7 separate regions of the Homo sapiens genome follow, and regions 1, 2, 3, 4, 5 and 7 are each linked to region 6. Evidence: promoter capture Hi-C in human tissues and cell types (Jung and others, 2019). All regions are on one chromosome and are shown on one strand. The core of a region is centred on a gene start or on the middle of the fragment in contact, and the rest is flanking DNA. Distances in the headings are between cores, read along the strand shown.

Region 1 (3,083 bases), core at 388-2,887, 700 kb before region 6:
GAACTATTTAACTAGAATCATACTGGAGAATAAAGAATTATTCACAAAATTAAAACAGGGGCATTTTCTAATAAGCAACAAAAATCATATTGAGTAATAAATTTTAAAAAATAATGAAAAATTTAAACAGTCACAAAAATAATAATGGGGCATTTTCTAATAAATAAGAAAAATAATATTGAATAACAAATTTGAAAAATGTAAATCTACTCGGACATCCAAAATAGAACAGAATTAATCATTAATTAGGAGAAAATCAGGTTTGGTATTAAAATTATTAAAGGCAATACTTCATAACAGAAGACAAGATAGGGACATGTTTAAGTAATGCAAGGAAAGAAAAATAGAGAACCAAGGTATTATATCAAATCATATCATACCCAGCTCAGTTTACCTTCAAGTGTAAAGCACACAAATAATAATGAATATTAGAGCAAACAAGCAGAAAAACAAAACCCTGGAGTACAATTCTTGAATGCTTTTTGAGGAACCTATTAAAGTATAAACCTTGTATAACCAAAAAATAATTGGAGAGACTATGATGAGGTATCTGTTGCTTAGTATTGCATGCATATATACTAAGACATCTTATGAAAATAAAGGTTAGTTATCCTGACTAGTATAGTAATTCCTTTCTTTACCTATTCATTAACAGCACAAGAAGCTCAAAGTGATCAGATAATCATCATAGTTTCAGGTTTAGCAGACACAATTCTGAGCTCACTAGAAGAAGTGTCATTACTCCTGAAAATCAAGATCCCTAATCCAGCAGAATTTGAACTTGTGGCGACAGGAAGCCGACCTTTTGAAACTGGGTTAAGAAATGATGGTGAGAGGGGGTCACTCCTATCACCACCGTATCAGTCCATTCTCACACGGCTATAAAGATACTACCTGAGACTGGGTAGTTTATAAAGGAAAGAGGTTTAATTAACTCACAGATAAGCATGGCTCCGGAGGCCTCAGGAAACTTACAATCATAGCAGAAGGTGAAGGGGAAGCAAGGTAACTTCTTCACAGGGCGGCAGGAAGGAGAATGAATGCAGAAGGAACTACCACACACTTATAAAACCATCAGATCTTGTGAGAATTCACTCACTACCATGAGAACAGTATGATAAGGGAACCACCTCATGATTCAATTACCTCCACCTAGTCTCTGCCTTGACATGTGGGGATTATGGGTATATGGGGAATTATAATTCAAGATGAGATTTTGATTTTTGTGGGGACACAATCAAACCATATCAACCGCCCACTATTTCCTAAACCCTTGTATTCTAGCCATTGAGGACAGAGCGTTAAAGTATAGAACCAAGTTGACTGCAAGTCTCTGTCCAGAAAGAAAATTTTCTCTAACTGACATCTATCAGACTATCCCTGATTAGAGCTATACTGCAGTGGCTTTTGATTTGGGGCTATCATAATTAAACAAACCAAGAAGTAAATCTCATTGTTTATTTTTTTTTTCCTTTCCTTTTGTTTTTTTTTTTTTCCTTCATGGGAAATCACACATGAGAAAATGTGTGCAAATGAAGCATCAATACAACAGAGGTAAGCACGTGAGTTAGACTACTTGTTTAATTATGTAGCTTACTTGTTCCTACTGGACACGCTTTGGCCTGATCATAAGCATATAATGGTGTCATGGAGAAAAAATATTTTTACCTTACCCATCTTAGATTCTTCAGCTGGTACTTTGTAAATCAGATTAACAAAAGGCAAATTAAGAAGAGAAAAACAGTTTATTAATGTGTGCAGTACACATTACACCGGAGGAACCTCCATGCTGAGTTACTCAAAGGGTTGATTAGAACTTGTGTTTATACAGTATCTTAACAAAAGAACAATACATTTTTAAAGAAGCTACAAGACAAAGGAAAAGTGTTTTATGCTTTCAAAGATGGCAAATGGTAGGAAGGCAAATGTTACATATGTGGGGAAAGTAATGGAAGATAAGTGTTGTTTATTCAGGTTGCTTTCGTGCTCACTTTCTATTTCCTTCATTGCCATAAAGCTTTCTTTGGAGTAGAAATTTTGATAGTTCTAATTTTTCAGAGGTTTCTGCTTTCATTCAAATAGAAGAAGCTCCAACAAGGCTTCCTTCTGCATCTGTTATTTCTGATTTATCTTTAGTTCAAAATTATTTTTATGCCAAGGTGGCGTATTTTGAGGTGGCATATTTTGACCCCCTGCACATGCATATTATAAGATGAATTTCTACTTTGCCTGGCTAATGTTTTAACAATACACAGCTCTTCTATTTGTTCAGAATCCCATGGCCTGGGGCTCAACCTCTATTATGGCCAAGTAGCTGATCAAGAACTTTTTCTCCAAAAGCAAGGAGTTCCCTCCTTGCTCTGGAATTCCAGTAATCTACAACTCTCCAACTGGTGGTCCCAGAGACCCACACAGCATCTCTTACCAACCGTGAATAGTCTGTTACCAATCCATCTGCTGAATCATATAGCCAAAGCTTCATGGTAGGTTACAACACACTTTACAGCCTTAATTTGCTGGAGGCCTTTCTCTCTCTGGGTCTAAATAGAAATTAGTAGCCTCATGAATAATGGCATGAATTAGTATTACTCAAAGCTGTATATGAATACTTCAAGTCAAAATAACTCAGCAAGCACTAGACCTCTCATTTTATTAAAGGTGCAAGTTTCAGCAACTTATTTTTTTAAATCATACACAGGATGTCCCAGCATGGGTCAGATTATGAAATTCCTAAGGTTTTGCCGAGGTAACAGATTTCTGAATGCTCAAAGTTTATGTCTTGCCCTTCTTCCAAAATAGCTAGAGTAGCTTTGAGATTTCTGACTACCAAGTCAATTAGCCTAATAGTGCCACCATAGCAGACTAGCATGATGTTCTGCAGAATATACATGCATAAAAAAAACTAAGTCCAGGCTCAGCGGCTCATGCCATTAATCCCAGCACTTTGGGAGGCCAAGACAGGCAGATCGCTTGAGCTAGGGAGATTGAGACCAGCCTGTGCAACATGGTGAAACCCTGTCTCTACAAAAAATACAAAAAATTAGCCGGGCATGGTGGTGAACACCTGTAGTTCCAGGTACTCG
Region 2 (3,416 bases), core at 882-3,381, 980 kb before region 6:
ATATAATATATAATTATATGTAATATATAATTATATAATATGTGATAAATTATATATACAAAATAATATATATAATGTATGAAATATATTATATATAGTATATACTATCATATAGTATATATCATATATATTAATTATATACATAATATATAATATTTATACATTCTACATAATGTTTATATAATGTATAATTTATATATAATATGCAATATATAATATATAATATTTTAATACATTTATATAAAATATAATATATATATCTCATATATATACCATTTTCTTTAACCACTTATTGATTGATGGGCATTTGGGCTGGTTCTATACTTTTGCAATTGCAAATAGTGCTGCTATAAATATGTGTGTGCACATATCTTTTTGGTATAATGACTTATGTTCCTCTGGGTAAATAACCAGTAGTGGGATTGCTGGATCAACTGGTAGATCTACTTTTAATTCTTTAAAGAATTTACGCACTTTTCCATAGTGGTTGTACTAGTTTACATTCCCACCAGTAGGGTTAAACTGTTCTCTTTTTACCACATCTAGTCCAACATCGATTTTTTTTTATTCTCTTATTATTGCCATTCTTGCCAGTGTGAGGTGGTATTGCATTATGGTTTTGGGTGCATTTCTCTGCTCATTGGTGATGTTGAGCATTTTTTCATATGTTTATTTGCCATTTGTTCATCTTCTTTTGAAAATTTTCTATTCATGCCTTTAGCTCACTTTTTGATGAGATTGTTTGTTTTGTTCTTGCTCATTTGTTTGAGTTCCTTGTAGATTCTGGATATTAATCTTTTGTTGGATATCCAGACCGCAAAGATTTTCTCCCACTGTGGGTTGTCTGTTTACTCTGTTGATTGTTTCTTTTGTTGTGTAGAATCTTTTGAGGTTAATTTATTCCATCTATTTATTTTTGTTTCTGTTTAATTTGCTTTTGGGTTCTTGGTCATAAAGTCATTGCCTATGCCAATGTCTAGAAGGGTTTTTTCTGATATTATCTTCTAGAATTTTTATGGGTTCAGATCTTATGTTTAAGTCCTTAATTTATCTTGAGCTTATTTTTGTACAAGGTGAGAGATTAGGACACAATTTCTTTCTTCTACATGTGGCTTGCCAATTATCCCAGCACCATTTGATGAACAGAATGTCCATTCCCCAATTTGTTTTTGTTTGCTTTGTTGAAGATGAGTTAGCTGTAGGTATTTGAGTTTATTTCTGGTTTCCTTAATCTGTTCCATTGTTATATGTGCCTATTTGTACAACAGTATTATGCTGTTTTGGTGACTATAACCTTACAGTAAAGTGTGAAGTTGAGTAATATAATGCCTCCAGAATTGTTCTTTTTTCTTAGTCTTGCTTTGGCTATGGAGGCTTTTTTTTTTTTTTTTTTTTTTTTTTTTTGGTTTCACAGGAATTTTAGGATAGTTTTTTCTAGCGCTGTGAAGAATGATGGTGGTATTTTGATGCAAATTGCATCAAATTTATAGATTGCTTTTGGCAATATTGTCATTTTCACAATATTGATTCTACCCATCCATGAGCATGGAATGTGTTTCATTTGTTTGTGCTGTTATTTCTCTCAGCAGTGTTTTGTAGTTGTCCCTGTAGAGGTCTTTCACCTCCTTGGTTAAGTATATTCCTAAGTATTTTATTTTAATTTTTTTGCAGGTATTGTAAAAGGGATCGAGTTCTTCATTTGATTCTCAGCTTGGTTGCTGTTGCTTTATAGTAGGGCTACTAATTTGGGTACATTAATTTTGTTTCCTGAAGCTCTGCTGAACTCACTTACTATATCTAGGAGATTTTTGGATGAGTCTTCAGGATTTCCTAGGTATATGATCATGTCATCAGCAAACAGCAACAGGTTGACTTCCTCTTCATTGATTTGGATGCCCTTTACTTTTATTTTTCCTGTCTGATTGCCCTGGTTAAGACTTCCAGTACTGTTCTGAATGCAAGTGGTGGAAGTTTGCATCCTTGTCTTGTGCCAGTTCTCAGGGGGGATGCTTTCAACTTTTCCCTATTCTACATAATGTTGGCTGTGGGTTTGTCATAGATAGCTTTTATTACCTTAAGGTATGTCCCTTCTATGTTGATTTTGCTGTGAGTTTTAATCATAAAGGGATGATGTATTTTGTGAAATTCTTTTTCTGTATCTATTGAGATGCTCGTGTGATTTTTGTTTTTAATTCTATTTATGTGGTGTGTCACATTTATTTACTTTTGTATGTTAAACCGTCCCTGCATTTCTGGTATGAAACCCACTGGATCATGGTGGATTATCTTTTTGATATGCTGTTGGATATTCTTTTTGATATGCTGTTGGATTCAGTTAGCTAGTATTTGGTTGAGAATTTTTGCATCTATGTTCATAAGGGATATTGGCCTATAGTTTTTTTTATGTCCTTTTCTGGTTTTGGTATTAGGGTGATACTTCATAGAATGATTTAGGAAGGATTCTTTATTTCTCTATGTTTTGTAATAGTGTCAATAGGATTGGTACCAATTATTTGAATATCTGATAGAATTCAGCTATGAATCTCTCTGGGCCTGGCCTTTTTTTTTACTTGGCAAATTTTTAATTACCATTTCAATCTTGCACTTGTTATTTGTCTGCTCAGAGTTTCTATTTCTTCCTGGTTTAAACTAGGAGGGTGATATATTTCCAGGAATTTGTCCCTCTTCTGTATGTTTGCTAGTTTATCTGCATAAAGGCATTCATAATAGCCTTGAATGATCTTTTGTATTTCTGTGGAATCAGTTGTAGTGTCTCCCATTTTATTTTAATTGAGCTTATTTGGATCTTCATTCTTCTTTTTTTGGTTAATCTCATGAATGATCTATCAATTTTAATTAATTTTTCAAAGAATCAGGTTTTTGTTTCATTTATCTTTTATTTGTTTTAATTTCATTTAGTTCTGCTCTGATCCTGGTTATTTCTTTTCTTCTGCTAGGTTTTGGTTTTGTTTGTTTTTGTTTCTCTAGTTTCTTGATGTGTGACCTTAGATTAACTATTTGTCCTCTTTCAAAGTTGTTTTTTTTTTTTTTTTTTAAACAGAGTCTCGCTCTGTCACCCAGGCTGGAGTGCAATGGTGTGATCTTGCCTCACTGCAACCTCCACCTTCTGGGTTCAAGCGATTCTCCTGCCTCAGCCTCCTGACTAGCTAGGATTACAGGTGCACACCACCACGCCTGGCTAATTGTATTTTTAGTAGAGACGAAGTTTCACCATGTTGGTCAGGCTGGTCTCAAACTCCTGACCTCGTGATTTCCCCCGCCTTGGCCTCCCAAAGTGCTGAGATTACAGGTGTGAGCCACTGCATCCAGCCTCAAAGTTTTTGATGTAGGCATTTAATCCTATGAACTTTCCTCTTAGCACCACTTTTGCTGTATCCCAGAGGTTTTGATAGGTT
Region 3 (3,313 bases), core at 224-2,723, 780 kb before region 6:
GGTGTGGATGTGAGGCAAGTACTTACATCTGCTTTTGTCACTTTGAGTTGGGTTTTCTGTAGTTTACAATTGACCACATTTCACCTGATGTAATTAAGATCTGGATGGTGAACAGAGCATTGTCTGTTATGCTTTGTTATGTTTTACATTGTAGATTTGTGAATCTTTAAATTGTTCAGGGAATAATAGAATTTTCAATAAACATTAGCTTTTATTCACATCTGAACAAAACCACAATGATGCAGGATGCTTAATAACTAAGCTAAAAGCTGATGTAAGGGAAATGCAATTCTATAACCTGCAGATTTTGACTTAGTATGTCGTTAAACTCTTTGCAATTTTGCAAGAAAAAAAAAACTCTAAAAGGTAAATGTAAAATCCCTGCTAATTCCAAATGGTCCCAAAAGGTTTTCTATGCAACTCAATGATTTCTGCCTTGTGTAGTTGTTTATCAAAATTTTATAAAATAGTATTTGTATTATGTGAAGCAAAGTACAGTTATTTATTCCTCCCAACCTTGACATCTCAGATACTCTCATTTTAAAAATGTAACCATATTTTCCAGCCCCAATTTATTTCTCACTTTCCTTCATACTTCCACTCATATGACTTAAAGGGAGACTGTCTCATTTGAGCTCACAGCCATATTCTGGAAAAAATCTGATTGTTCAGCAAATATCAGAGATTGCCTTAAGATACAGAGTTTAACAAGAATGTATTCCAATTGTTGTCATTAAAATCAAATTCCTAACATTGGACACTGAAGGAAGACATAGAAGTAACTCTGGAAGTCAGGAAACAACAAAGTAACTATAGGCATAACCTTCTTCCAAAATGTGGGGAATTATTGAAAACTGAGCTATCAAAAAATTCTCTAATATATTTCAGCAAAAATATGTGGCTCAATCTGAATTGAAAAATTAATTCTAGGATTTGTTAGATATGTTAATTGGTTCAAATCAAAATTAACATATGAAAGGAAAGAAAGACACTGAAAATAGACTGTGAATTAAAGCAGCAAAAGAGGTAATAGAAATAAACCTTACATGTGACAGCCTGTCACCTCAATAAAATAAGGTTGTGTGGCAAAAAGGCAGCCATTGCAAAAAAACTATGACACTGATATCCAAGAGCAGCTTCAATGTTGGTCACATAGACACTTTCTTTACAAATATTCATGTCATTAATCTTCTTTCAAAAATCGCTGAGGTATAAATATCAGCTAGACTTGCATTAGCAAAGAATGCAAAAATGAATGTGCCACACTCTTTCTTGCTGTTTCTATTTATACACATTACAGTAAGTAATGCCATATGAGAGAGGCCAGATGTTCTGAATGCTCGCTTTTACCTGTCATATACGTAGAGCTTACAATGTATCTTAAGACATTTAGAAACTCATTTTTCTATACCTATTTTGTCTTGTGTTTGTTTTGTAAAGTCTTTCCTAGAATGGGACCAAAATGAGATTTACATTAGAGTAATCTTGTTTATTTCTATATTATCATATAAGCCATTTGTTACTCATGTAAACACATATTCATACTTATAGACCAAGATAGACAGAGAGCTAATTTTTTATATACAATTAAAAAAATCATGGTATGTAATAGAAAATACAATAAATACATGTTGATATAGTAAAGTTAGAGAAATATCTTTATATTCAAAGCAGTATGCAAAAGGCTAAAGAAGAATATAAAACCCTGCAATGATGCACATTATCTAGGAGTCCAAACAGAAGTAATAAAATGAAATCTTAGTGCTCTTCTTGAGGTGTAAGGAAAACATTATGGAGACAGGTAGGAGGAACTCTGACTTAATAAATGGCAAAACACTTTGTAGAATTTGTTAGGAGAGAAGAGGCAAGTGCAATCCATGTAGAGGAAATAGTATATGGAATGGATCACTAGATGTGCAGGGCATCAAGTAGTTTATTCTGGCAATGATAGAGTTTGCTTAGGTAAGAATAGTAAGGTGATTCTGGACAGGTTTGCTGGACTCAATCATAAAGAGTTTTAAGTCTCCTGGAAAGTCTGAAAAATCAAAATAAGGTAAGACAAAGGTGAAAAGTGCACATCAAACTCTTAATAGCAGTGGTAAAGGTCAAATGATGTAGTGCAGGAAGGTGTCAGAGAAACCATAGGGTATTAGTGTTACTGTAAACAACACTAACATCAAACAACATTTGAAGGGGGTTGTCAATAAGTCTCTGGTAAGGGGATGAGATAGATAGAAATGTGTGAAGAAGGTATTTAGAATTTAATACCCACACGATTGCAATAAGCTACATTTTGGAATCAAGAGACAGAAAGGTACGCTTAGACTATCAAGGTCCTGACTTGAGTGCCTAAAGGATGATGGATGATAGTAAGAAACACTGAATATGAAATACTTTTAAAGGAATTAAAATGAGTTTAGACTTTGGACACATTAATATTGAAATTGTTATGGGACGTTTGTGGTTGTGTCAGGTATTCCGTGAGTAATTTCTGAAATTTGAGGAAGAGATTTGGCTATCATGTAGAGATACTGAAGTTATTGCTATGTAAAAACAGGAAAGACCTTGTCAAAGAAAACTGAAGATTCAGAACTATAACTTATGGAAAGCTTTAGTGATTATAAAGCTAAATTTAGAGACTATGTAATTATTATAAAACTAAATTTAGAGACTATGTAAAGATAGAGCATATAATGTCTGTTATAGAGACATCTCATGTAGTGAAACGACATTTAATCAAGGAGAGAGAAAAGAAAGAAAGATATAGGAGGTTATGAGTTAAATAACTACTGAAATATTTTAGATTTGGTCCACCTTTAGATAACATAGTTGATGACTAAGTTAACATTTTATTTCTATTGTGTGACCTTATCTTAAAATACCCCTATCTAAATCTGGTATTTTGTTTCTCCTCACTTTTTAAAGAACTTTTACATGGCAGCAGACTCACAAAATCATTGATCAACTGTGGGAAGGATTGTAAGGTGAAAGCCCTAGAAGTCATGAATAGAAATAAATGCTTAGTGGGACACTTAGCTAAATCATTGAGAATGTTTAGAATGTAAGTCTCTTAAGTCGAAAAGTTTGTTATCCTCTTTTATAAATTTTTGCTGTTGTTTATTTTCTTTGGCTTTTATTTGTTATCCAAAATTCTGTACCTGGGACATAGTGTGCACTCAATAACTCAACAACTGTGAGTTGGATTCTGCAAACTACCAATATTACATTCACTTTACTTTGTACATCATATTGTAATATATGCAGAGATTCTATATATTGTACTACATGATTGTTATATCAATTGAAATTGAAT
Region 4 (3,041 bases), core at 164-2,663, 630 kb before region 6:
AAATTTCACAGAGAATACTGGGGATAATAAATATGAAAAAGGAAGCCATTTTAGGTTTAGGGATAAGTGTGAAAGTGGGACAGGGCCTGCTTATATTACTAGAAAATAATTTTCAATTTGGAGGTTATAATGAACTATCATTTTTTATAAAAGTGACCTTTATAAAAAACGAAGAAGCGTGCCTTCTCCTTTAGCAAGAATATTGCATTAATAATTGTCGTCCTGCAATTAGAAGAAGAGTAGGCTTTCAATTCTTATAACTTTTCTCTAAAATGTTGGCACATGAAAAGAAGTGCCCTGGACAGATGGGAAATTAGCATGTCATAAAAATCTATAATAGATGGGCCGTTGCTGTCAATCTTATGAAACTAATTACATCACAATGAATTTTCCTGCAAATTACCATGGACTTACAAGGGAAATATTATGCATATAAGGCAAACAATAGAAATATTTTCTTTCAATATAATTTTTTAATATTTTTAATTATTTGCTAGAATAGAGATGTGTTTATTACTACTGTATGATAATGTGATATAATTTTTTTTCAAGACGAAGATGTGTGTATGAAGGCAAGAGTAACCACTACCCTGCCTAAAGGTCACTCTTTAGTTGATACTTAGCTACCACTTGGGCCAAATGGAAAATCCTTCCTTCCACACTACCACTTCCCTGAAATGTATTCAGTGTCCTGGGTCACTGAAACATGGATAGCCTATATAGGGTGCATTTGGTAAGACAACAAATTATGGATCAAAAGGAGGCATCAGAACTCCTTGGACAATTAGTGGTCAACATGCTTGTTGCCATCAAAGAGAAATCCTTATTAGTTTGCAAAAAGCAGGCAACTAATGTATATTGTTAGCATAGGTTATGTTTGGTACTCACAAGAATGGCAAACAGACTCAGTTCCTGAAGGCATCCCTGATCCTGGGAGTGCATTCTTAGATAAAACTTGTTGATCTCATGCTATTGTCTCTTCTGTCATATTAGTGATGTTCCTCTCTCTCCCCTTTCTCTAGTCTAGCATTTGCCAATCTCAACACTATTGTTATTTTGGATCAGATCATTCTATGTTGTGGAACTGTCCTTTGCATTGTAGATGTTTAACAGCAGCTCTGACCTCCACTAGCCAGATGCCAACATAACCCCCCACTCTCAGTTGTGACAACCAAAAATGACTCCAGACATTGCCAGATGTTCCCTAGCAGGGGGTGGGGGGCGGTTTCTGCAGTTGATATTCATTATCTAGCTCATGGAATTTTTTTCTGTCTGCATGCAATATAAAGATTTTCATCTTATATCTATATTGTATTTGCTTCCAGAGTGACAATAGTCCCCTTGAGGAAATGGTAATTTGGCCTAGCTACCTGAATTTGGGTGAAGAATAGAGCTGTGAGAATTCAAGTGGAAAAATGCAATTAAAACAATGAGTTAATGCTTAAAGCTTCCTGCCCACAATCCACTCATGCTTCCATATGAAAATACTGTGTTCACTACAATTTAAATGTAGAATCCATCGATTGAACTACAAAAATAGATTTGATATACAAAGTCTGTTTTGATACATACTGTTTTTTGAGCACTGCGACCTTTTTAGTAACTAAAACCTTTTTTATAGCTCAGAAGTAAATGATAAGTTACTCAGTCAACTGCAGCCTGAAAGTATTAAATAAAAAATTCCAAAAATAAACAATGTATAAGTTTCAAATCGCATTATCTTCTGAGTAGCGTAATGAAACTCATGCCATCTCTGTTTGTCCCATCCCGGATCTGAATCATCCTTTTGTCCAGCACATCCACACTGTCTACACTACCTGCTCATTAATCTCTTAGCTTTCTTGGTTACCAGATTGATTGTCACAGTATGGCAGTGCCTGTCTTCAAGGAAGCTTTAGTTTACTTAATAATGGCCCGAAAGTGAAAGGGTAATCATGCTGGCAATTCAGATATTCCAAAGAGAAGCCATAAAGTGCTTCCTTTAAGTGAAAAATTGAAAGTTCTTTGATTAATAAGGAAAGAAAAAAATCTTATGCTGAGGTTGTTAAGATCTACAGTAAGAACGAATCTTCTATACAGGAAATCGTGGAAAAGGAAGAAGAAATTTGGGTATAGTATACATATAATTTTGTACTATCCATGGTTTCAGCTGTCCAGTAGGGGCCTTGGCCACAGAGAATGGATGACTACCTTATGCTCAGTGTAATACATACTAGTTAATTAGCAATCTCTTCAATATATTTTTGAAAAAATATAAATGCAACTGTATGTGTTCTGTATGTATTTATGCACATCTTTATACATGTATTTATGTATGCATATATACATATGTCTATATTACATATATAATTTTCAAACATTCAACTTTTTACATTTTAATGACAATAGTGTTAATAAAATCACTAAGATTGAGATGTTCTATTTTGTGTAGAACCACTTCAAATATCATCTGAAATCATATCCACAGTACACCTAACAAAATAGATGTCACAAGATGATGTTATCTGTGCTTATACATCATTACTTATCCAGTATTATTAACTTTATAGTATCTACCTATACCAAAGAATATTTCACTTCTCACTTCTAGATCCTCTGTTAATGTATGTGTCAAATATGTGCTTTGAAGTTCATTAAAAGTAGTTAGAATCCTATTCACTAATCGAGATTACATATGCAACAGTGTCTGTCATGTAAGATGTTCCTCATGCTGATAGTATCTTCAAACATATATATGTATAGTAAATGGACTCAACAGATTTTTAACAAAGAATTTACTATTTATTAAATTTCTTGCAAAATTAAACAAGATAGCTGATATGTATTTATTCTGCAATAATTATAACGAAAAGTATGCATTCACATTCATGTATATTCTATGGGCATAATGTTCTACTTAAAAGAAAACATTTTAAACAGCTTATAATAAATATGACATTTTTTGATATCTTTAACACACGTTGTCTCCACAGAAGTAAAAGGAATTTTATAAAATCATTATGATCACTGCAAGGAAATTCCCACTTCTTATTTAAGTTTGA
Region 5 (3,439 bases), core at 438-2,937, 920 kb before region 6:
TTTTGTGCATTACTGTGTTTCTTAATTTACAGAGAAAACAACAGTCTCCTTTTTCAAACTACCTCAGCCTCATGCCTAAAGTCACTCCCCACTATTTCATTTAAATTATCTTCAATATTGTTATAACAGTTTGCCTCAAAAGGCATAGGGTGGTGTGAGAGGTACAATGATCACTCATAGAAATCTATTAGTAGAGGAATGAAAACACCAAAGAATTTTAATAACTTGTGTTTGGATATTGATCAAAGTTCTCAATCGGTTCTAGGGCCAATTAGCATAACTTGTCAAAACAAGTGTTTCAGTGATTCAAGATGTCTGATAAGATGCAGCTAGAAGGAACATCTACCACCAAGAGACTGGTACATAAGGAAGACTGGCACACTCAGAGTGTATCTTCAGAGGAAGGCACTGAGAGTGGACAGAGGGAGGACACAGATGATGGGCAGAATGAGGAGGAAGCTGGGAACCCTGCATGGCACTACTGCACACAGGGACTTTCCTGACTCCCACTGACTCCTCAGGAAGCCATGAGCTGAACAGGAGTTGAGCAACGTGCTCTTGCCATGGACCTCCAGAATCCTGGCAGCAGGAGACCTTATGACCTCCACAAACACTTCAGCTATCAGGGAGAACTGCTTAGAGAGGTGGCAGGAACAGTACTCCAGCCTGTCTGAAGCCCTCAGGGTTTGGTATGGGAACATCTGCAGTGGAGCATGTCCAGTAATGCCCATTTCCCAAGGCTCGCCATGCTCCTCTAGGAGACTTTAGCCATATGGAGAATGTCGGACCTGGAGAGAGCAGAGTAGTCTTGTCCATGAGACAAGGCCAGTCTGATCTGTGTTCTCTCTTTTCTGCTGGCCTCCCCTGGGGCACAAGTCTGGCCACCTTGTTGCAGTGAAGCTGCAGCTGCCCAACTGGGATGCTACCCTGGGGCCCTCATGGTAGCTCTTTTGCCAGCAGACTGCACCTGACCATGGGAGAGCTCTAAGTGACCTCCACCAACATGTACCAGTTCACCTGCACATTTTGCTGGCCCACAGTGACCCACAGCCACACCCCCACTGCTTTGCCAGTGTCTGGGTGGGCAGACCACACCTCCCCTCCTCCAGCGGCATGTGAGTGCATGCACACCCACTGGGACACTGCAGCTGGCATGAGCGTACCTCACCCTCCACCCCACTATGCCACCATTGCTGTTGCACTGACAACCCCATGCCCCGCTGTGCCATCACCACAACTGCCTTAATCTGACACAAGGAGGCCAACAGCCTTGCACAGGCCAGTTCACCACCCCTGCTGCTGGTATGAAGGCCTGCAAAAATGTGTCAGCCCAGCCCCCACTGCTACCTCACCACAGCCGATGCACATGCACCCCACCACACTGCCGCTGCTGCTGGCACTTGTGAACAAGCTTGAATCCTGCTGCCACTGTCTTAAAGAACCACTCTGGCTGGCACCACTCATCAGAGTGCTGTGGTCAGTGGTACGGGAGCACCTAGGCCCCACCAATGCAGCACGTTCCTAAGCTCACAAGGGTCCAGAAAACAAAGCTGGGGACCAACATGAAACCACACAGCACACATTCCTGGAGGGCTGAGCTGAGCCTTGGCCCCCTAAAAATGTCTGGAAATGTAGCATAAATCCATCTTATGCAAAAATCAAACCCCCAAGGGCATCAAAGAAAATAAAAGCCAAAAAAAAAAAAAAAAACCCTCCAAAGGACAGCAACTTCAAGGACCAAAGGAACATCAGACCACACAGATGAGAAAAAACTAATGCTAGAACTCTGGCCACTCAAAAACCAGAATGTCTTATTCCCTCCATATAACTGAACTATTTCCCCAGCAATGGCTCATATCCAGGCTGAAATGGCTGAAATGACAGAAATAGAACTCAGAATATGGACAGAAATAAAGATTATTGATATTCAGGAGAAAGCCAAATCCCAACGCAAGGATTTTAAGGAATGTAATAAAATAATACAGGATACGAAAGATGAAATGGTCATTTTAAGAAAGAACCAAACTGATTTGATAGAGTTGAAAAACTCACTTCAAAAATTTCAGAATACTATCACAAGTATTAACAGCAGAATTGACCAAGCTGAGGAAAGAATCTCAGAGCTTAAAGACCAGTTCTTCAAAATAACTCAGTCAGAAAAAATAAAGAAAAATGATTAAATAAGAACAAATACTCTCCAAAAATATGGGATTATGTAAAGAGACAAAATATGTGTGTCATTGATGTCCCTGAAAGAGAGGGAGACAAAGCAAGCAACTTAAAAAATATTTCAGGATATTGTCCATGAAAATTTCCCCAGCCTTGCTAAAGAGATCAACATTCAAGTTCAAAAAATGCAGAGAACCCCTCTGAGATACTATACAACATGATCATACCTAAAGCACATAGTCATCATATTCTCCAACACCAAAATGAAAGAAAAAATGTTAAAATAAGCTAGAGAGAAGGGGCATGTTACCTATAGAGGGAAACTTAACAGGGTAACAGCAGACCTTTCAGCAGAAACCCTACAAGCCAGAAGAGATTGGGGACATACATTCCTAAAGAAAAGAAATTCCAACCAAGAATTTAATATACAGCCAAATGAAGCTTCATAAGCGAAGGAGAGATAGGATCCTAGTCCAGATAAGCAAATGCTAAGGGAACTTGTTACCCTAAGACCTATCATGGCTGGGTGCAGTGGCTCACACCTGTAATCCCAGCACTTTGGGAGTCCCAGGTGGTTGGATCACCTGAGGTCAGGAGTTCGAGACCAGCCTGGCCAAAATGGTGAAACCTCGTCTCTATTAAAAATACAAAAAGGTAGCCAGGAGTGGTGGTGCATCCCTGTAGTCCCAGCTACTTGGGAGGCTGAGGCAGGAGAATCACTTGAACCCAGGAGGTGGAGGTTGCAGTGAGACGAGACTGCACCACTGCACTCCAGCCTGGGCAACAGAGCGAGACCCTGTCAAAAAAAAAAAAAGATGTATCTTAAAAGAGGTACTGAAGGGAGTGCTAAATATAGAAATATGGAAAGGAAAAACACCTAATAGCCACCACAAAAACACACTGAGGTACATAGATCACTGACACTGTAAAGCAACCTCACAGTCTGCATAATAACCAGCTAACAACATGATGACATGATCAATTTCATACATACCAATATTAACCTTGAATGTAAACAGGCTAAATACACCAATGAAAAGGCACAGAGTGGAAATTTGAATAAAGAAGCAACATCCAATAGCAGACTGTCTTCAAGAGACCTGTTTCCCATGCAACGACACCAACAGGCTCAAAGTAAAGGGAAGGAGAAAAGTCTCCCAACCAAATGGAGAAAAGAAAAAGCGGGGATTGCTATTTTAATTTCAGACAAAACCTACTTTAATCCAACAAAGATTAAAAGAGACAAAGAAGGATATTACATAATGGTAAA
Region 6 (3,034 bases), core at 148-2,647:
CCAGCTCAGCGAATCGGTTGCCATCCCCCTGGGTCTGCACGTCCAGGGAGAAGTAGCTGTTGGGGGTGATCTCGTAGTCGCGCAAGGAGTTGGTGCCCACGTCTGGGTCGAATGCGCTCTCCAAGGGGAAGCGAGTGCCTGGCGTGGCGCTCTCAGAGATTTCCACCGTCAGGTCTGGCTCCGGGAAAGAGGGGGGGTTGTCATTAATGTCCAGCACCTCGATCTCCACCTGGAACAGCTCCAGGGGGTTCTCCAGAAAGACCTCCAGGTGCAGGACACAGGAGGGGCTCTGTTTGCAGATTTGTTCGCGGTCTATTTTCTCGTTCACGTACAGCACCCCTGTCTCCAGGTTGAGGTCTAAGTAAGGGGTCCTTGAGTTGGGCACCGTCTGAAACCCGCGAGCCGAAAGTTTTGTAATGTCCAGACCCAGATCTTCAGCGATATTCCCCACGAAAGTGCCATGTTCCTGCTCCTCCTGTACCGTGTAGTGAAGCTGGGAAAAGACTCCTTCCACCATCCAGAGCAAGGCAAACAATAATAGCACAATCATCTCCAAAAGGAAAGGAAGTAGCTTCCCGCAGCCAGTCAGCCACCCAATCACCTCCCCCACCACCACGAAACAAAAAAAAATCTGAAAAAATACAAATAAAAGTGCGCTACGTGGGGGCTCCTGTGGCTTTCTGTCTTTAAAAATCTTACTCCTTTTGCTTCATTTTAGAGCTTCCCGCAATCCAGCCTCATTTTTTTTTAAATCTTAGCACAGGAAGGGTGACAGGCGTCCCCTTTCCTCATCTGTAATCTTTCCACTGACTAATTAATAAAATAACAATAATACAATAGTCAGCGTCCTTTATTCCGACAGTCTTGGCGCTGGCAAATCCCAAAGAGGAAATTTCGATATTTCAAGACTGTCCTCGGTTTGTCTTCTTGCTGATGGGAGGAGAACGAGGAGGAGGAAAAAGAGGAGGAGGAGGAGGAAGAAGAAGAAGAGGAAGAGGAGAAGGAAAAGGAGATGCTGTTGGCACCGTTAAACATGCCTCTTAATGTCAACGGCTGGCAAATGCAAAAGGGCTTAAAATCAGCGATATAATTTTGTGCCGGAAAAGCACAGAACGGCTCTGCAGCTTAAAACTTTCATTCTCTTCATTTCTCCGGATGGATGTTCTTCTTGACATTTTTTTCCTCTTTCGCTCTATTTGTATTTTTTGTCTTTCAGAGTCTTGGTTCCCTCTGTCCTCATCTCCACCGTTACTTGCCTCTCTGTAAGTGTAATGAGCAGTTTCTTTTCTGCTGTTTTCTTCCCAAGCCTCTTTCCCTCTAACCTGTCTCTTTTTCCTTCCAGTCCTTCCTTCCTCCTGCTTCAGCCTCTGAGCCTGTGGTCTGGGCTGGCAGTTTCTGAGCTCCGAGCGCTCGGCTTCTCCGTTTTTGCGCAGCGCCCTCATTCTGCCAACCAATCGCCCAGGAGCACCACCCACCGAGCTGCCGATGATTGGCCAAACTGGCCGCCAAACAGACACGTCACGCGGCAGCCGGGCGGGGCGGGACAGAACTCTCGCCCGAGCGGCCGGGGTGAGTGTGAGTGTGAGAGCGAGAACAGCCCCGCAGGTCCCGAGGCGCTGGCTGGGGACAATGCCGCGGAAAGTTCCCAGTCCCCAGCCGCAGGTAATGGGGAGGGAATAGAGAGGTTCCCCTGTTTGCATCAGCAAATGCGAAAACATAATAGCAACAGCTGCGATATCCTCTCCTAGGAGCGGGATTTCCAATGATGCTAACATTCTTTTTCCTTTAAGGTATTTTCCCTAATACGCATCATGGAAATAAATCATCGAGAAGGGAAAAAGTAGCGCAGGGCCCACTAATTGGCAAGGGTTACCTAATTAAGGGACCCTAGCAGAGACTGGCAGGGCATTTTAAAAGTGAGTATTATATGGCATGTGTCAATCTAAAGGTGAGGGGGTCTGACGGGGCCGTGAGGAAAGGCGCGAAGCATACGGAGTAGGGGGTGGAGGTGACTCCTAAAAAGCGGAGGAATTCACGCTAAAGGATGTGGGGATGACAGCGCTTACAGACGGGCAGACGCGTTCGACGTGCTTCTTTCCTCCCAAAATACATATTCACAAAATACTTACCAAGTAGATTAACTCACTCGAGGACCTAGCTTCGAGCCGTGAGCGCGTTCATCAGTGACTGAGGAGTTGATTTGAGCCGCTTCCTACAAGCCCGCCATCCTAACGCCGGGCTCTGGGGCATCCGGCACACAGCACCGCCAAGCGCTGCAAAGCGCCTCTGATATCCCTGCGCCTTGTGCGGCCAAGTGCCACGCAGCGGCTGGGAACACCGGCTATTTTCTATTTTTTTTTTGGCAATTGGAGATCGATCCCTTTACCCACCATGCTAGATTAGACCACTGATTTCTGCCAATCCTGGGGTCAGCCCGCGGGATGAGGACAGTGGGGCGGCGGCGAACGCGGGCGGGGTGGTGGGCAGGGCCCGTGCACACGAGGGGCCCGAGTGTGCACCGCTGCGGGTATCTGCGAACACGTTTGCACATGCACGGTACTTGCATCCATCCTCCCTGGCCCAGGGCTTAGCTCTGTGTAAGCCCCAACGGAGCCTCCCCGAGTTCCGAAGGACGCGCTTGACCAGCTGTGAGTGCCCCTTCCGGAGGCGCAGGGGCAACGCGGCACATCCACATAGCTAGTTCTTGTGAAGTTAAAACACAGCGCGAACTCTTTAATGCTGGAGAGTGGATAGAATGCCAGTTCTCTAAGGAAAGATCTATAAATATATATTTTTAATTAATGGGCCACTAGCAAGGAATTGGTTGTTTATTCACGAAAGAAGCCCCTATTCAATCTCCTTTTTATGCAAAGAGATAGGAAGGTCCTTTGCTGCTTTCTGGTAATGAATGACCCAAGAATACACCACCACAACCTGCGGGAAAAGTAGAGTCGTTTTCCGACCTGGAGATACGTTGCCATTTCCTCCTGGCAAGGAGTTAAGGAGGGCTAGTGTCCATGGGCGTGATAGTAGC
Region 7 (3,328 bases), core at 271-2,770, 650 kb before region 6:
GAGGTGGTACCATCTATTAGACTGAAAAGTATTGTAAAGGTAAAATATATAAAATCTATTCACATTTGTAAATCTATGGTAATGTTATATTTTACTGTCCATATCTCCTGGCTTTATTTACCTTTAGAAAAAAGGTTAGGATATAAAAGAATACAATTCTGCAAATTTACTAAGTTGGGTTTATATCCTGGTCCCATTTATTTTGCTTTGGAAAAGATACTTAGCTAAAAGTAGAGGAGAATTCTAATCTTAGTTACATGACTTAATATCAAATATATTTGGAAGAATTTCATTTCTTCATATGAAACAATATGATTTCAATTATTGATTGATCTATGATTAATCTATACGGCTAACATTAGTCTTTCTCATTTGACTGAAGCTTCATGAGAGATTGAATCATGTTAACTTTGTTCTTCATTTTTGTGCTCAGTGTTTTAAACAGTATTTAGCATATAATGAACATTATTTATGAAATAAAAAAATTATTCGTTGAGGAAAAGGTACACATACATTTGTCAGTATTTTGAATCACTTCCCCTTTGTGTGAGACTTGGGAGAAAGAGTTCTAAGTAATACAATATTCCGTACTGCCTCATTCTATACCCTTCCTACATTTGTATCTATTATTCAACCTCTCTTAACTTTTTTTACTATCCTTAGAAAGTTGATATGTAGATCTCTTTATCAGAGTGCTTTAAATAATCAATAAGAGTAATGGATTGGATTTGAAAACAAGATGTATTCCAAATCTCATTCATTTATACACTTTGTTAAACAGACTTATTATATTGATGGTTCTCAATGAATATATTTTAATAACTAAATTAAGAATACATAGCATAATTCTGGAATGTGGTTAGAAACCCATTTGTCCAAAGTATAAAACTAGGCATTAGTTTTAAAATATATGAGACAGAGTGGGCCAAATATAACTGCAACTATATTATTAGCACACAATACACATATTCTAACTAATGATCTTGGTCAAAATGCACAGCAGTAAGTCTGTACCAGACCAAAAGACTTGTGTATTGAGGAATGAATCAATGGAAGGAATAAAAGATTGTTATAGTTTAAATACAGCACTTAAAAAACTTAATTTGTTCTAATTTATCTGAATTAAGTACTAAATATTGAGTTATCATATCAATAATGGAATCAGTTAAAATATGTTTAGTAGCAAATATTAGAGAACTTACCTTCAGAGGACACTTATGCTTTATATATTAAGGAATTCTCAGGATTGATTTAGCAATTTAGTATCTTCAAGATTTCAGTTCCTTCACTTCTAATCTTTCAACTTCAGCCTGGTGGCAATATCACCTTTCAAGGTTATGAAATGGCTGCTACAGTTTCAAACATTACATTATCATTCTTCAGCATTCTCAAAACAAAGAAACAAAGGTTGAAGGGAAGAACGGGGAAGGGAGCTAGAGAAAAAAAAGGCTTTCTCCTGGCCTCAACTTTGCATTTCATCAGAAAAGAAATAGTTTCCCTTTAAGTTGGGGTATTGGCTATGCAACCTCTATCCTAAAAGAAGTTATATTGGCTTAAGCATTAAACAATTAAAATAATTGTAACTCTTTAAAAACACTAATACAGGCTGCCTTTCCAAACCAGTTACTTCAAAATCTCCAGGGTATCAGGATGTCACAAAACTTCCTCAGGTGACTGTAATGTGCACCTCAGTTTGACATCCACCAGTTAAACCTGATTGTCATTCATCCCCTTCATCAAGGCAGTTTTTATCTGAATGAAATGGAGATTCTATAAGCAAGGAAGAAAAAAGAATAATAAAGCCAAATAAGAATACCATACAGAAACCTCATATAAAGTGGATCCACAATCTCTCACCTGATTTAATTGCTCCTGCAGGAAATAGAACACTAAAAAGGCCTTTACTCCAATGATAACATATCCAAGCCATTCCCAAAACATCCTAAGAAATAAAGCTTGAAATAGACTAAACTTCATGAAGACCTGAGCTAGCATCATGAGTAGGGATTATGAGTACTATGAATTACAAAGATTGTGTAGTTGTTTCTAAGTGTGGGCATGTGTTTTATGATTACAAGGGGGAAAAGGGCATATCTAAATGAGGATAATTTTTTTTTCATTTAAATTTCCCACGACTGACAGCAAAAGCAAAATGTCTGTCTATTTTTAACAGTGTTAAATAAAATATTGTGCTGAAAATCTTAATTTCTAATTTAAGATCTACCTTTCTGTCACAGCCAGATTTACTTTATTCTCATAAATGAATGGTGACTTAAATGTAAACAGAAATGATGATATAATTACAGTAATTCCAAATCTATACAATGTATGACATAAAATTATATTTGATGTTTCCATATTCATTACTTTGCAAAAATATTTGTTTCTATCCATAAATTTGTATGTGATTTGGTGATGATTGCAGCAAATACTTGCTTTAGCTTTGAAGAATGTATTTTGGCTTATTCACATGCGGAAAATTGGTACCACATACAAAATGATGGATATGATCTGTTACTGGAGTTAAATGTAGGTTAATGGAGAAATGATGAGAAAATGAAGCAGAGGGCTCAATAAAGCTAAAAAAGAAGAGAGAAAAGAAAAATAAGGGAATTAAAATGTTGCTGGCCAGCTGGCACTTGTACAAATGAATGCAGTGAACTATATGGTGTGCAAACATATTCCAAGTGGGTTGTAACAATTCTTGATGCTAGTCATAGAAAGGATAAAATTAGAATAAATAACAAATCAAATAAGTTAAAATGAAAGTCTTTCATTAACAATGTGCTAGTTTTAGAATATTACATAAATATAAAGTTCAAAAAGTTTTAAATAAAATCCCATTATGGAAAAAGAAAACTCAGAAATGTCAGAAATAATTACAGATGAATTTTTAATGTATGCAAATACATATTTTTCTGTATTAGTGACAGGTGCACTGTTATTTTTTAATGGAGTAAAACATTTCTTATTAGAACTTGTCAGGTGCTCCCAGCTGACAAATATGCTTAAGGAACATGTTTCAGCACAGCATACTCAGTAAGGTTCTGTGCTCACATTTTCATTTTAATCCATTCTTAAGTCAAACAAATCTGAAAATATTCACCTGAAAAATTAATAAAGTCGCATGCAGAAGACAATAGCTTTCAAGTAGTCCTTCATGTGCTTTTTAAAAAACAAGTGAGAAAGCATTACAGTATTAAAAATACAACATGTCTGTGGTGTTATATACACATTATGGCTTCTATTAATGTGGTTCATCTGTTTCAAAGTCTGTACAGCAAATTGCTTAGTATCACTTGACCTGTGAATAAATGCTTACATGACA

What was found. Contacts are between HindIII fragments. The study calls those that stand out against the background at their distance.
Region 1: a fragment that was not itself captured here is called in contact with the fragment with the promoter of PCDH10 in region 6 in 2 of the 25 tissues and cell types used here (heart left ventricle and mesendoderm cells).
Region 2: a contact is called between a fragment that was not itself captured here and the fragment with the promoter of PCDH10 in region 6, in 1 of the 25 tissues and cell types used here (mesendoderm cells).
Region 3: a contact is called between a fragment that was not itself captured here and the fragment with the promoter of PCDH10 in region 6, in 1 of the 25 tissues and cell types used here (mesendoderm cells).
Region 4: a fragment that was not itself captured here is called in contact with the fragment with the promoter of PCDH10 in region 6 in 1 of the 25 tissues and cell types used here (H1 embryonic stem cells).
Region 5: a fragment that was not itself captured here is called in contact with the fragment with the promoter of PCDH10 in region 6 in 1 of the 25 tissues and cell types used here (mesendoderm cells).
Region 7: a fragment that was not itself captured here is called in contact with the fragment with the promoter of PCDH10 in region 6 in 2 of the 25 tissues and cell types used here (H1 embryonic stem cells and heart left ventricle).

What each region holds. Positions count from the first base shown.
Region 1 is chr4:133,850,141-133,853,223 of GRCh38, reverse strand. No RefSeq gene overlaps it. Among named protein-coding and RNA genes, the nearest start is that of PABPC4L, 350 kb to the left of the region's middle. The HindIII fragment of the contact is 7,112 bases long and covers 1-3,083 here.
Region 2 is chr4:134,129,703-134,133,118 of GRCh38, reverse strand. It overlaps a transcript of PABPC4L not described here. Among named protein-coding and RNA genes, the nearest start is that of PABPC4L, 70 kb to the left of the region's middle. The HindIII fragment of the contact is 6,623 bases long and covers 1-3,416 here.
Region 3 is chr4:133,923,255-133,926,567 of GRCh38, reverse strand. No RefSeq gene overlaps it. Among named protein-coding and RNA genes, the nearest start is that of PABPC4L, 280 kb to the left of the region's middle. The HindIII fragment of the contact is 7,204 bases long and covers 1-3,313 here.
Region 4 is chr4:133,777,932-133,780,972 of GRCh38, reverse strand. No RefSeq gene overlaps it. Among named protein-coding and RNA genes, the nearest start is that of PABPC4L, 420 kb to the left of the region's middle. The HindIII fragment of the contact is 4,201 bases long and covers 1-3,041 here.
Region 5 is chr4:134,068,260-134,071,698 of GRCh38, reverse strand. It overlaps a transcript of PABPC4L not described here. Among named protein-coding and RNA genes, the nearest start is that of PABPC4L, 130 kb to the left of the region's middle. RefSeq lists an enhancer at 325-1,013. The HindIII fragment of the contact is 5,712 bases long and covers 1-3,439 here.
Region 6 is chr4:133,147,657-133,150,690 of GRCh38, reverse strand. It overlaps PCDH10 (protocadherin 10), which reads right to left and starts at 1,397. Exons shown (of 5, transcript NM_032961.3): 1 at 1-1,397. The coding sequence starts at 550. PCDH10-DT (PCDH10 divergent transcript) reads left to right here and starts at 1,575. Exons shown (of 9, transcript NR_125885.1): 1 at 1,575-1,662. RefSeq lists a silencer at 1,344-1,483 and an enhancer at 1,594-1,653. The HindIII fragment of the contact is 10,822 bases long and covers 1-3,034 here.
Region 7 is chr4:133,796,128-133,799,455 of GRCh38, reverse strand. No RefSeq gene overlaps it. Among named protein-coding and RNA genes, the nearest start is that of PABPC4L, 400 kb to the left of the region's middle. The HindIII fragment of the contact is 3,980 bases long and covers 1-3,328 here.